Regions from separate parts of the Homo sapiens genome. Here region 1 is linked to region 2. The links are contacts of gene promoters, found by promoter capture Hi-C in human tissues and cell types (Jung and others, 2019). All regions are on one chromosome and are shown on one strand. The core of a region is centred on a gene start or on the middle of the fragment in contact, and the rest is flanking DNA. Distances in the headings are between cores, read along the strand shown. Region 1 has its middle 4.3 kb from the start of UGT1A8. Region 2 holds the start of UGT1A3 (UDP glucuronosyltransferase family 1 member A3).

The links. The method cuts DNA at HindIII sites, captures the fragments that hold promoters and counts their contacts. A contact is called where the count stands out against the background at its distance.
Region 1: a fragment that was not itself captured here is called in contact with the fragment with the promoter of UGT1A3 in region 2 in 2 of the 25 tissues and cell types used here (adrenal gland and hippocampus).

Annotation. Positions count from the first base shown.
Region 1 is chr2:233,610,136-233,616,561 of GRCh38, forward strand. It overlaps UGT1A. Among named protein-coding and RNA genes, the nearest start is that of UGT1A8, 4.3 kb to the right of the region's middle. The HindIII fragment of the contact is 6,432 bases long and covers 1-5,215 here.
Region 2 is chr2:233,727,547-233,733,387 of GRCh38, forward strand. It overlaps UGT1A3 (UDP glucuronosyltransferase family 1 member A3), which reads left to right and starts at 1,496. Exons shown (of 5, transcript NM_019093.4): 1 at 1,496-2,447. The coding sequence starts at 1,581. The region is part of intron 1 of UGT1A8 (UDP glucuronosyltransferase family 1 member A8); the gene reads left to right. All of the region lies in intron 1 of UGT1A10 (UDP glucuronosyltransferase family 1 member A10), which reads left to right. All of the region lies in intron 1 of UGT1A9 (UDP glucuronosyltransferase family 1 member A9), which reads left to right. It also overlaps UGT1A7, UGT1A6, UGT1A5, UGT1A4 and UGT1A. The HindIII fragment of the contact is 9,204 bases long and covers 1-5,841 here.

The sequences.
Region 1 (6,426 bases), core at 750-3,249, 120 kb before region 2:
TTATATGGTATGTTACTTTAAATGATTTATAAAAATTATTTATTTTATCATTAATTGTGGTGAAATACACATAGCATAAGATATATCATCTTCACCACTTTAGGTGCACAGTTCAGTATTGAGTACATTCACGTTGCTGTGCAACCAACACCACCATTCATCTCCAGAACTCTCTTCATCTTCCCAAACTGAAACTTTGGACCCCTTAAAAAATAATTCTCTGCTCCCCCCACCTCTCAGCCCTTGTCAACAAGCATTCAACTCTTTTATTCTATGAATTTGACTATTTTAGATACCTCATATAAGTAGAATCATAAAGCATTTGTCGTTTTGTGACTAGCTTAGTTCACTCTGCACAATGTCCTTAAAGTTCATTCATGTTAGCATATGTCAGAATTTTCTTCCTTTCTAAGGCTAATAATATTGCATTCCGTATATATACACCACATTTTTGCTTGGGTTGTTTCCACTTACAGGCTGGGCTCTTGTGAGTTATGTTGCTATGAACATAGTGGTACCATGTCAAACCAGCCTTGCATTCCTAGGATAAACCCCATTTGGTTATGGTGTATAATTTTTTTTATGTAGTAACTATTTTAAAATATTACAGAATTTGACTTAATAATATTTTGTTTAAAATTTTTGAATCTAAGGCCATGAAGGTCTGTAATTTTTTTATCTCATAATATCTTTGTCTGGTTTTGGTACTGTGATAATGCTGGTCCCATAAAATGTATTAGGAAATCCCCTAGGCTTCAGTTTTTGGGACTAGTTTGTGAATAATTGGTATTATTTGTTCCTTCAATGTTTGCTGGATTCATTAGTGATGTCATCTGAGCTTCACTTTGTTTCGTGTGGGAAGGTTTGAATTACAAATACAAATTCAATTCGACAGATACAGGTTAGTTCTATTGGGGTTATGTATTTATTCTTGTGAATAGTCTAGCAGTTTGTCTCTTTAACAAAATGTGCCCATTTCATCTAAGTTGTAGATTTTTTGGGCATAAATTTGTTCATGATATTCTCTTAGCATTTTAATATCTGTAGAATCTATGGTGATACCACCTCTCTCATTCCTGATATTGATAATTTATTTCTTCTCTCTTTTTTTTTTCAGATCAAGGTGGCTAGAGCTTTACCAAATTAATTGATCTCAACAAACCAGCTTTGGTTTCATTAATTTTCTCAACAAACCAGCTTTGGTTTAATTAATTTTGCCATTTTTTAAACGCATTTTCCATTTCATTGATTTCTATTCTGAAGTAAGCCTCCAGGGAAGGTAGATCACTGACCGTCATGTTTATTTTTCAAGGACAGTCATCTGCAAGTGCCCCAGTCACCAAAAGAAAAGATGACTAAGCAAATGTCTAGTACCAGTTAGGGTGTCCTGAAAGGAGCCATCTTGTACTCCTACAAGGATTATACCCCGAGGTTGTTTGTGGAATCTCTCACTAAATGTTCTTTAAGGTGTTGCCTGACACACACTGCTTAGCTCGTCCATGAAGGTATCAAGAAAACCTGCAGAATATAATTCTGTCCAGTGCAACAAATATTACGGTTGATTTTCTTTGTGCAAGGCTGTATTTGTCTGTTTGGATTGCTGTAAAGGATACCTGAGGCTGGGTAATTTATAAAGAAAAAAGGTTTAATTGGCTCACAGTTTTGCAGCCTTTATACGAAACACAGTGCTAGCATCTGCTTCTGGTGAGGCCTCAGGAAGCTTACAATCATGACAGAAGGTGATGGGGAGCTGGTGTGTCACATGGCAAGAGCAGGAGCAAGAGAGAGACAGGAGAGATGGCACATACTTTCTTTTTAATTTTAATTTTTATTTCTGGGGTACATGTGGAAGATGTTCAGGTTTGTTACATAGGTAAACATATGCCCTGGTGCCACATGCATTTTTTTTTTCCTGCTCTTACACTTTTCTTTCTTTTTAAATGCTTTAAGTTCTGGGATATATGTGCAGAACATTGTTACACAGGTATACACGTGCCATGGTGGTTTGCTACACCCATCAACCTGACATCTACATTAGGTGTTTCTCCTAAGCTATCCCTCCCCTAGACCCCCCCACCCCCCGACAGGCCCTGGTGTGCGATGTTCCCCTCCCTGTGTCCATGCGTTCTCATTGTTCAACTCCAACTTATGTGTGAGAGCATGCGGTGTTTGGTTTTGTGTTCCTGTGTTAGTTTGCTGAGAATTATGGTTTCCAGCTTCATCCATGTTTCTGCAAAGGACATGAACTCATCCTTTTTTATGGCTGCATAGTATTCCATGTTGTATATGTGCCACATTTTCTTTATCCAGTCTATCATTGATGGGCATTTGAGTTGGTTCCACATCCTTGCTGTTGCGAATAGTGTTGCAATAAACACACGTGTGCATGCGTCTTTATAGTAGAATAATTTATAAGCCCTTTGGTATATACCCAGTAATGGGATTGCTGTGTCAAATGATATTTCTGGTTCTAGATCCTTGAGGAATCGCCACACTGTGTTCCACAATGGTTGAACTAATTTACACTCCTACCAACAGTGTAAAAGTGTTCCTATTTCTCCACATCCTCTCCAGCATCTGTTCTTTCCTGAGTTTTAATGATCGCCATTCTAACTGGCATGAGATGGTATCTCATTGTGGATTTGATTTGCATTTCTCTAATGACCAGTGATGATGAGCTGTTTTTGATATGTTTGCTGGTCATATAAATGTCTTCTTTTGTGAAGTGTCTGTTCATATCCTTTGCGCACTTTTTGATGGGGTTGTTTTTTTCTTGTAAATTGGTTTAAGTTCCTTTTAGATTCTGGATATTAGCCCTTTGTCAGATGGATAGGTTGCAAAACTTTTCTCCAATTCTTTAAGTTGCCTGTTCCATCTGATGATAGTTTCTTTTGCTGTGCAGAAGCTCTTTGGTTTAATTAGATCCCATTTGTCAATTTTGGCTTTTGGTTGCCATTGCTTTTGGTGTTTTAGTTATGAAGTCTTTGCCCATGCCTATGTCCTGAATGGTTATTGCCTAGGTTTTCTTCTAGGGTTTTCATGGTTTTAGGTCTTATGTTTAAGGCTTTAATCCATCTTGAGTTAATTTTTGTATAAGGTGTAAGGAAGGGGTCCAGATTCAGTTTTCTACAAATGGCTAGCCAGTTTTCCCAACACCATTTATTAAATAGGGAATCGTTTCCCCATTTCTTGTTTTTGTCAGGTTTGTCAAAGGTCAGATGGTTGTAGATGTGTGGCATAATTTCTGAGGCCTCTGTTCTGTTCCATTGGTCTATATATCTGTTTGGGTACAAGTACCATGCTGTTTTGGTTACTGTAGTCTTGTAGTATAGTTTGAAGTCAAGTAGCGTGATGCCTCCAGCTTTGTTCTTTTTGCTTAGGATTGTCTTGGCTATACTGGCTCTTTTTTAGTTCCATATGAACTTTAAAGTAGTTTTTTTCCAATTCTGTGAAGAAATTCAATGGTAGCTTGATGGGGATAGCATTGAATGTATAAATTACCTTGGACAGTATGACCATTTTCACGATATTGATTCTTCCTATCCATGAGCGTGGAATGTTTTTCCATTTGTTTGTGTCCTCCCTTATTTACTTGAGCAGTGGTTTGTAGTTTTCCTTGAAGAGGTCCTTCCCATCCCTTGTAAGTTGTATTCCTAGGTATTTTATTCTCTTTGTAGCAATTGTGAATGGGAGTTTACTCATGATTTGGCTCTGTTTTTCTGTTATTGGTGTATAGGAATGCCTGTGATTTTTGCACATTGATTTTTGTATCTTGAGACTTTTCTGAAGTTGCTTATCAGCTTAAGGAGATTTTGGGCTGAGATGATGGGGTTTTCTAAATATACAATCATGTCATCTGCAAACAGAGACAATTTGACTTCCTCTCTTCCTATTTGAATCCCTATATTGCTTTCTCTTGCCTGATTACCTTGGCCAGAACTTCCAATACTATGTTGAATAGGAGTGGTGAGAGAGGGCATCCTTATCTTGTGCCAGTTTTCAAAGGGAATGCTTCCAGCTTTTGCCCATTCAGTATGATATTGGCTGTGTGTTTGTCATAAAATACTCCTATTATTTTGAGATATGTTCAATCAATACCTGGTTTATTGAGAGGTTTTAGCATGAAGGGCTGTTGAATTTTGTTGAAGGTCTTTTCTGCATCTATGAGGATAATCATGTGTTTTTTGTCATTGGTTCTGTTTATGTAATGGATTACGTTTATTGATTTGCATATGTTGGACTAGCCTTGCATTCCAGAGATGAAGCCAACTTCATCATGGTGGATAAGCTTGTTGATGTGTTGCTGGATTTGGTTTGGCAGTATTTTATTGAGGATTTTCACCATTGATGTTCATCAGGGATAGTGGTCTGAACTTTTTTGTTGTTGTTGTTGTGTCTCTGCCAGGTTTTGGTATCAAGATGATGCTGGCCTCATAAAATGAGTTATGGAGGAGTCTCTGTTTTTCTATTGTTGGGAATAGTTTCAGAAGGAATGGAACCAGCTCCTTTTTGTACCTCTGGTAGAATTAGGCTGTGAATCCATCTGGTCCTGGGCTTTTTTTGGTTGGTAGGCTATTAATTACTGCCTCAATTTCAGAACCTGTTATTGGTTTAGTCAGGGATTCGACTTCTTCCTGGTTTAGCCTTGGGAGGGTGTATGAGTCCGGGAATTTATCCATTTCTCCAAGATTTTTTAGTTTATTTGCATAGAGGTGTTTATAGTATTCTCTGATGGTAGTTTGTATTTCTCTCGGATCAGTGGTGATCTCCCTTTTATCATTTTTTATTGTGTCTATTTGATTCTTCTCTCTTTTCTTCTGTATTAGTCTGGCTAGTGGTCTATCTATTTTGTTAATCTTTTCAAAAAACCAGCTCCTGGATTCATTGATTTTTTGAAAATATTTTGTGTCTCTATCTTCTTCAGTTCTGCTCTGATCTTAGTTTTTTCTTGTCTTCTGCTAGCTTTTGAATTTGTTTGCTCTTGCTTCTCTAGTTCTTTTAATTGTGATGTTAGGGTTTTGATTTTAGATCTTTCCTGCTTTCTCCTGTGGGCATTTAGTGCTATAAATTTCCCTCTAAACACTGCTTTAGCCATGTCCCAGAGATTCTGGTACGTTGTGTCTTTGTTCTCATTGGTTTCAAAGAGCTTATTTATTTCTGCCTTAATTTCATTATTTACCCAGTAGTTATTCAGGAGCAAGTTGCTCAGTTTCCATGCAGTTGTGTGGTTATGAGTGAGTTTCTTAATCCTGAGTTCTAATTTGATTGCTCTGTGGTCTGAGAGACTGTTTTACTTCCAATTATGTGGTCAATTTTAGAATAAGTGCAGTGTGGTGATGAGAAGAATGTATATTCTGTTGATTTGGGGTGGAGAATTCTGTAGATGTCTAGTAGGTCTGCTTGATCCAGAGCTGAGTTCAGGTCCTCAATATCCTTGCTACTTTTCTGTCTCATTGATCTATCTAATATTGACAGTGGGGTGTTAAAGTCTTCCACTGTTATTGTATGGGAGTCTAAGTCTCTTTGTAGGTCTGTAAGAACTTGCTTTATGAATCTGGGTGCTCCTGTATTGGGTGCATATGTACTTAGGATGGGTAGCACTTCTTGTTGCATTGATCTCTTTACCATTATGTAATGCCCTTCTTTGTCTTTTTTGATCTTTGTTCATTTAAAGTCTATTTTATCAGAGACTAGGATTGCAACCCCTGCTTTTTTTTTCTTTCCATTTGCTTGGTAAATATTCCTCCCTCCCTTTATTTTGAGCCTATGTGTGTCTTGCACGTGAGATGGGTCTCCTGAGTGCAGCACACCGATGGGTCTTGACTGTTTATCCAATTTGCCAGTCTGTGTCTTTTAATTGGGGCATTTAGCCCATTTACATTTAGGGTTAATATTGTTATGTGTGAATTTGATCCTGTCATTATGATGCTAGCTGGTTATATTGCCCACTAGTTGATGCAGTTTCTTTATAGTGTCAATTGTCCTTACAACTGGGTATGTTTTTGCAGTGGCTGGTACTCATTTTTCCTTTCCATATTTAGTGCTTCCTTCAGGAGCTCTTGTTTAAGGCAGGCCTGGTGGTGACAAAATCTCTCAGCATTTGCTGGTCTGTAAAGGATTTTATTTCTCCTTCACTTATGAAGCTTAGTTTGGCTGGATATGAAATTCTGGGTTGAAAATTCTTTTCTTTAAGAATGTTGAATATTGGCCCCCACTGTCTTCTGGCTTGTGGGGTTTCTGCAGAGATATCTGCTTTTAGTCTGATGGGTTACCTTTGTGGGTAACCAGACCTTTCTCTCTGGTTGCCCTTAACATTTTTTCCTTCATTTTAACCTTAATGAATCTGATGATTCTGTGTCTTGGGGTTGCTTTTCTCGAGGAGTGTCTTTGTGGTGTTCTCTGTTTTTCCTGAATTTGAATGTTGGC
Region 2 (5,841 bases), core at 246-2,745:
ACCTGGGCTCATCATGAGGGTGCTTAGGAAGCATATAGTTTTAAGGGGGTTGGAGGAATAGTTCAGAGGCTGAGAGGTTGCACCCACAGCTGAGAATCCCTTTCTAGTGCTCTATGTCCTTACAAATTCCCAGGAATCATCCTCTACTGGACAGTTCCCAAAGCCCTTGCAGACCTTCCTTTTCTGTGCCATCCTGCGTGTGCTGCCCTTGAGCTGGGTGTCCCCCAGTAGACGCTTCCATTCACTGCCTGTCCCATGGGTTCTGTCCAAAGGTGGAATCTGTTATCAATGTGGAGTAATTTCCTCCCTAAGGGAAGCCTCAGCCTCACCAGCAATGGCAGACACGGCCAGGCAAGAAGACACAGGGGCAGTGAGATAGAAAGTGCACACCCCAGACAGCCTGCCCACATCATCCTGAGGTGACCAGGACAAGGTGGCATCAGCAATCTTGTGAGCACAGCACATGTGGGAGTGACTTTCTGGAGTAGGATAAGCCTCATTGGGCTTGAGGCCCTTGTGAGTGCTCAGGGTCTCTCCTTTAGAAAGGCACATATTTAATTCTCCATCTTGAAATTTGGACTAGGGCCCCCACAAATTGTGCAGCCCATTCTGTTCTGGAGGAACCATTCTTATCAGAACTTGGTGCTGGATTGACTTGGAGAAGAGCCTGACCATAATCTTCAGGATGAAATAAAGGCCTGGATGACTGAAATAAAGACTGGAGCCTTCGGCATTCAGAAGAGGAATTCAGACTGTGCAAGATCTGAGGCCAGGCTCCAGCTCCCCCAGTCCCTTGGTGAGCAGGAGCTCCCTGAACCCACCATGGGTCTTTGCTAGGGTTGTCTTGCCCATGTGTGCTTTAGATAGCAGCACCTCTTCTTCCATGGTGTATATGGAGAATCCTCAACAAAGTCTTCCCAAGAATCTGATCATCACATCTTGAGCTCAGCCTCCCTGCAGCTTTTTCTATATTGACAGCCACTTCAGAGAGAGTCCTCTCTGATCCTTACAAGAAATATCCTGGTGCGAAAAACGACCAAAACCACATAGCCAGCCTCCACGCTGTTCAGAGAAAGCTGGCTTAGCAATGTTGTATGGTTTTTGGATGCGCTGCGTTACTCATACATGAGAAGAAAGTTTCAAGGGTTAGCAAATAGGGTCACATCCAGCAGAGAGCATATGACTGGGGGCTAGGGCAATGGTGACTCCTCAGACCTCAGCTGCTGCCTGATAAACATGGTTAACAGAGAAGTAGGAGACAGTGACATGAAATGGGTGTTCACAGCCTTGTGTTGGGAATTGGATGAGAAACAAGAGCTTGAACTTGGATGTTCCCCAGAGTGAGCACAGGGTCAGACGTGTTTTTCAAGATAGTCATGATCGGTCTTTTCCAGGGTGGGGCCCACAGTGAAAAACAGTGATAGATTAATGGTTAATAATTAACTAGAGGAGGGCACTCTGTCTTCCAATTACACGTTGATTTGCTAAGTGGCTCAGTGACAAGGTAATTAAGATGAAGAAAGCAAATGTAGCAGGCACAGCGTGGGGTGGACAGTCAGCTGTCCGTGTCTTCTGCTGAGATGGCCACAGGACTCCAGGTTCCCCTGCCGTGGCTGGCCACAGGACTGCTGCTTCTCCTCAGTGTCCAGCCCTGGGCTGAGAGTGGAAAGGTGTTGGTGGTGCCCATTGATGGCAGCCACTGGCTCAGCATGCGGGAGGTCTTGCGGGAGCTCCATGCCAGAGGCCACCAGGCAGTGGTCCTCACCCCAGAGGTGAATATGCACATCAAAGAAGAGAACTTTTTCACCCTGACAACCTATGCCATTTCGTGGACCCAGGATGAATTTGATCGCCATGTGCTGGGCCACACTCAACTGTACTTTGAAACAGAACATTTTCTGAAGAAATTTTTCAGAAGTATGGCAATGTTGAACAATATGTCTTTGGTCTATCATAGGTCTTGTGTGGAGCTACTACATAATGAGGCCCTGATCAGGCACCTGAATGCTACTTCCTTTGATGTGGTTTTAACAGACCCCGTTAACCTCTGCGCGGCAGTGCTGGCTAAGTACCTGTCGATTCCTACTGTGTTTTTTTTGAGGAACATTCCATGTGATTTAGACTTTAAGGGCACACAGTGTCCAAACCCTTCCTCCTATATTCCTAGATTACTAACAACCAATTCAGACCACATGACATTCATGCAAAGGGTCAAGAACATGCTCTACCCTCTGGCCCTGTCCTACATTTGCCATGCTTTTTCTGCTCCTTATGCAAGCCTTGCCTCTGAGCTTTTTCAGAGAGAGGTGTCAGTGGTGGATATTCTCAGTCATGCATCTGTGTGGCTGTTCCGAGGGGACTTTGTGATGGACTACCCCAGGCCAATCATGCCCAACATGGTCTTCATTGGGGGCATCAACTGTGCCAACAGGAAGCCACTATCTCAGGTCTGTATTGGTGCCTTCATCCAATCAATGTTCCAGGCAAAACACTTTTTAAAAAAATGTATTTATTTAAAATTGCTTCCATATTTACTTATCTTTCCAAATATTTCATTTCTGCTTCTCCTTGTCATAATAGCCTTCAGTGAGATAAACTGTTAAGGGGTCTCTAGTAGCGTATTTCAGGTTTTAAATGGTCACTGAGAGGAAGAGGAAGTAGACACGAATGTTTGTAAAAGGATGGACAAGGACTGGTGTGACTCATAGAGACTGTTGGTTTGTAAAGGCACCATCTTCATGGTTGTGCATGTCCTTCAGCTTGGCAGGAACAGGGACACTACGTTTGGAACTGATCCATCCTGGATTTTTTGCTAGCATGATTTTCAGGGGAAAGATGATGCAACAGTAAATTACAATTGTTGACATGATAATTTTTAGTTGTCCCATCTTGCAAATGATAGACAGGTGACCACAGGAGACCTAGGCACTCACATGAAATAGAAGTGTCAGAGAGGTTGACTCAGTGGAAGTGGGGCAATGAAGTTGGGATGGATGTCTGTGATTAGAGAATGACACACGAAGTTCAGTTTCCAGACAGGGATCTGTGCTGTCAAGAGATTTTCTGGTCAGGATTTGGGGTCTGGTGCATGATGTGGGGACATCTCAGAGTTCGGAAGGCAAAGTAATGGTTGCATCTCAAATGATTCTTCTACTTGGAATGCTGAAATTATCAAGAAATGGCGGAAGGGGCTAGGGAGGAGATAAGACTGTGAATCTATAAGCCCAGTGAAGCTGGGGACAGTGATGAATGGACATGCGTCCAAGAAGGGAAGCATTTCTCAGGAGAGGCTCATCACATCACCAAACCCACCCTACTGCACTCCAGGTTTCTATAGTGGGATCTACTCCTTTACCAAAAATTTCAGAGGCAGCTTTCATTAATCCAGAATATTTGGGTTTCGTTGAAATGGTACTCTGGGACCTGAATATTGTTTCTTATTCCTTGCTGTGCCATGTACATCGTGAGAGAATCAGCCTTTTTATGTCATATTCACCGAATGTGTATGAACTTCCATGATTTAGATCCTTTTGTATTCTTATTTCTGTGCCTTTTTTATAAATGTAGGTATTATTGCAAAAGACTCTAAGCTTCATTTTTCTTTTTGATCAAACGACATGATTTTTTTATGCAATGTAATTATTCAATTATAAAATACGTGTTTATTTAGATTTGTAAAAATGTTGAAAAGTGGGATGGCATTTAAATAGTGACTGTTGCCCTTCCAGTTTTTCTTTCTTTTTTTTTTTTTTATTATACTTTAAGTTCTAGGGTACATGTGCACAAATTGCAGGTTTGATACATAGGTATACATGTGCCATGTTGGTTTCCTGCACCCACCAACTCGTCATTTACATTAGGTATTTTTCCTAATGCCATCCCTCCCCCAGTCCCCCACCCCACAACAGGCCCTGGCGTGTGATGTTCCCTGGCCTGTGTCCAGTGTTCTTGCTGTTCAGTTCCCACCTATGAGTGAGAACATGCGGTGTTTGGTTTTCTGTCCATGTGATAGTTTGCTGAGAATGATGGTTTACAGCTTTGTCCATCTCCCTGCAAAGGACATGAACTCATCCTTTTTTATGGCTGCATAGTATTCCATGGTGTATATGTGCCACATTTTCTTAATCCAGTCTATCATTGATGGACATTTGGATTGGTTCCAGGTCTTTGCTATTGTGAATAGTGCCACAATAAACATACGTGTGCATGTGTCCTTAGAGTAGTATCATTTATAATCGTTTGGGTATATACCCAGTAATGGTATGGCTGTGTCAAATGGTATTTCTAGTTCTAGGTCCTTGAGGAATCGCCACACTGTCTTCCACAATGGTTGAACTAATTTACACTCCCACCAATGGTGTAAAAGTGTTCCTATTTCTCCACATCCTCTCCAACATCTGTTGTTTCCTGACTTTTTAATGGTCACCATTCTAACTGGCGTGAGATGGTATCTCATTGTGGTTTTGATTTGCATTTCTCTGATGACCAGTGATGATGAGCATTTATTCATGTGTCTGTTGGCTGCATAAATGTCTTCTTTTGAGAAGTGTCTGTTCATATCCTTTGCCCACTTTTTGATGAGGTTGTTTGTTTGTTTTTTTTCTTGTAAATTTGTTTGAGTTCTTTGTAGATTCTGGATATTAGCCCTTTGTCAGATGGGTAGATTGCAAAAATTTTCTCCCATTCTGTAGGTTGCCTGTTCACTCTGATGGTAGTTTCTTTTGCTGTGGAGAAGCTCTTTAGTTTAATTAGATCCCATTTGTCTATTTTGGCTTTTGTTGCCATTGCTTTTGGTGTTTTAGTCATGAAGTCCTGGCCCATGCCTATGTCTTCTAGGCCATGCCTATGCCTAAATGATATTGCCTAGGTTTTCTTCTAGGATTTTTATGGTTTTAGGTCTAACATTTGAGTCTTTAATCCATCTGGAATTAATTTTTGTATAAGGCGTAAGGAAGGGATCCTGTTCCAGCTTTCTACATATGGCCAGTTTTCCCAGCACCATTTATTAAATAAGGAATCCTTTCCCCATTGCTTGTTTTTGTCAGGTTTGTCAAAGATCAAATGGTTGTAGATGTGTGGTGTTATTTCTGAGACCACTGTTCTGCTCCATTGGTCTATATATCTGTTTTGGTACCAGCACCCATGCTGTTTTGTTACTGTAGCCTTGTAGTACAGTTTGAAGTCAGGTAGCATGATGCCACCAGCTTTGTTTTTTTTTTTTTTTTGCTTAGGATTGTCTTGGCAATGCAGGCTCTTTTTTGATTCCATATGAACTTTAAAGTAGTTTTTTCCAATTTTGTGAAGTCATTGGTAGCTTGATGGGTTTGGCATTGAATCTATAAATTACCTTGGGCAGTATGGCCATTTTCACGATATTGATTCTTCCTATCCATGAGCATGGAATGTTCTTCCATTTGTTTGTGTCTTCTTTTATTTCGTTGAGCAGTGGTTTGTAGTTCTCCTTGAAGAGGTCCTTCACATCCCTTTTAAGTTGGATTCCTAGGTATTTTATTCTCTTTGTAGCAATTGTGAATGGGAGTTCACTCATGGTTTGGCTCTGTTTGTCTGTTATTGGTGTATAGGAATGCTTGTGATTTTTGCACATTGATTTTGTATCCTGGGACTTTGCTGAAGTTGCTTATCAGCTTAAGGAGACTTTGGGCTGAGACAATGGGGTTTTCTAAATATACAATCATGTCATCTGCAAACAGGGACTATTTGACTTCCTCTTTTCCTAATTGAATGCTCTTTATTTCTTTCTCTTGCCTGATTGCCCTGGCCAGAACTTCCAACAGTATGTTGAGTAGGAGTGGTGAGAGAGGTCATCCTTGTTTTGTGCCA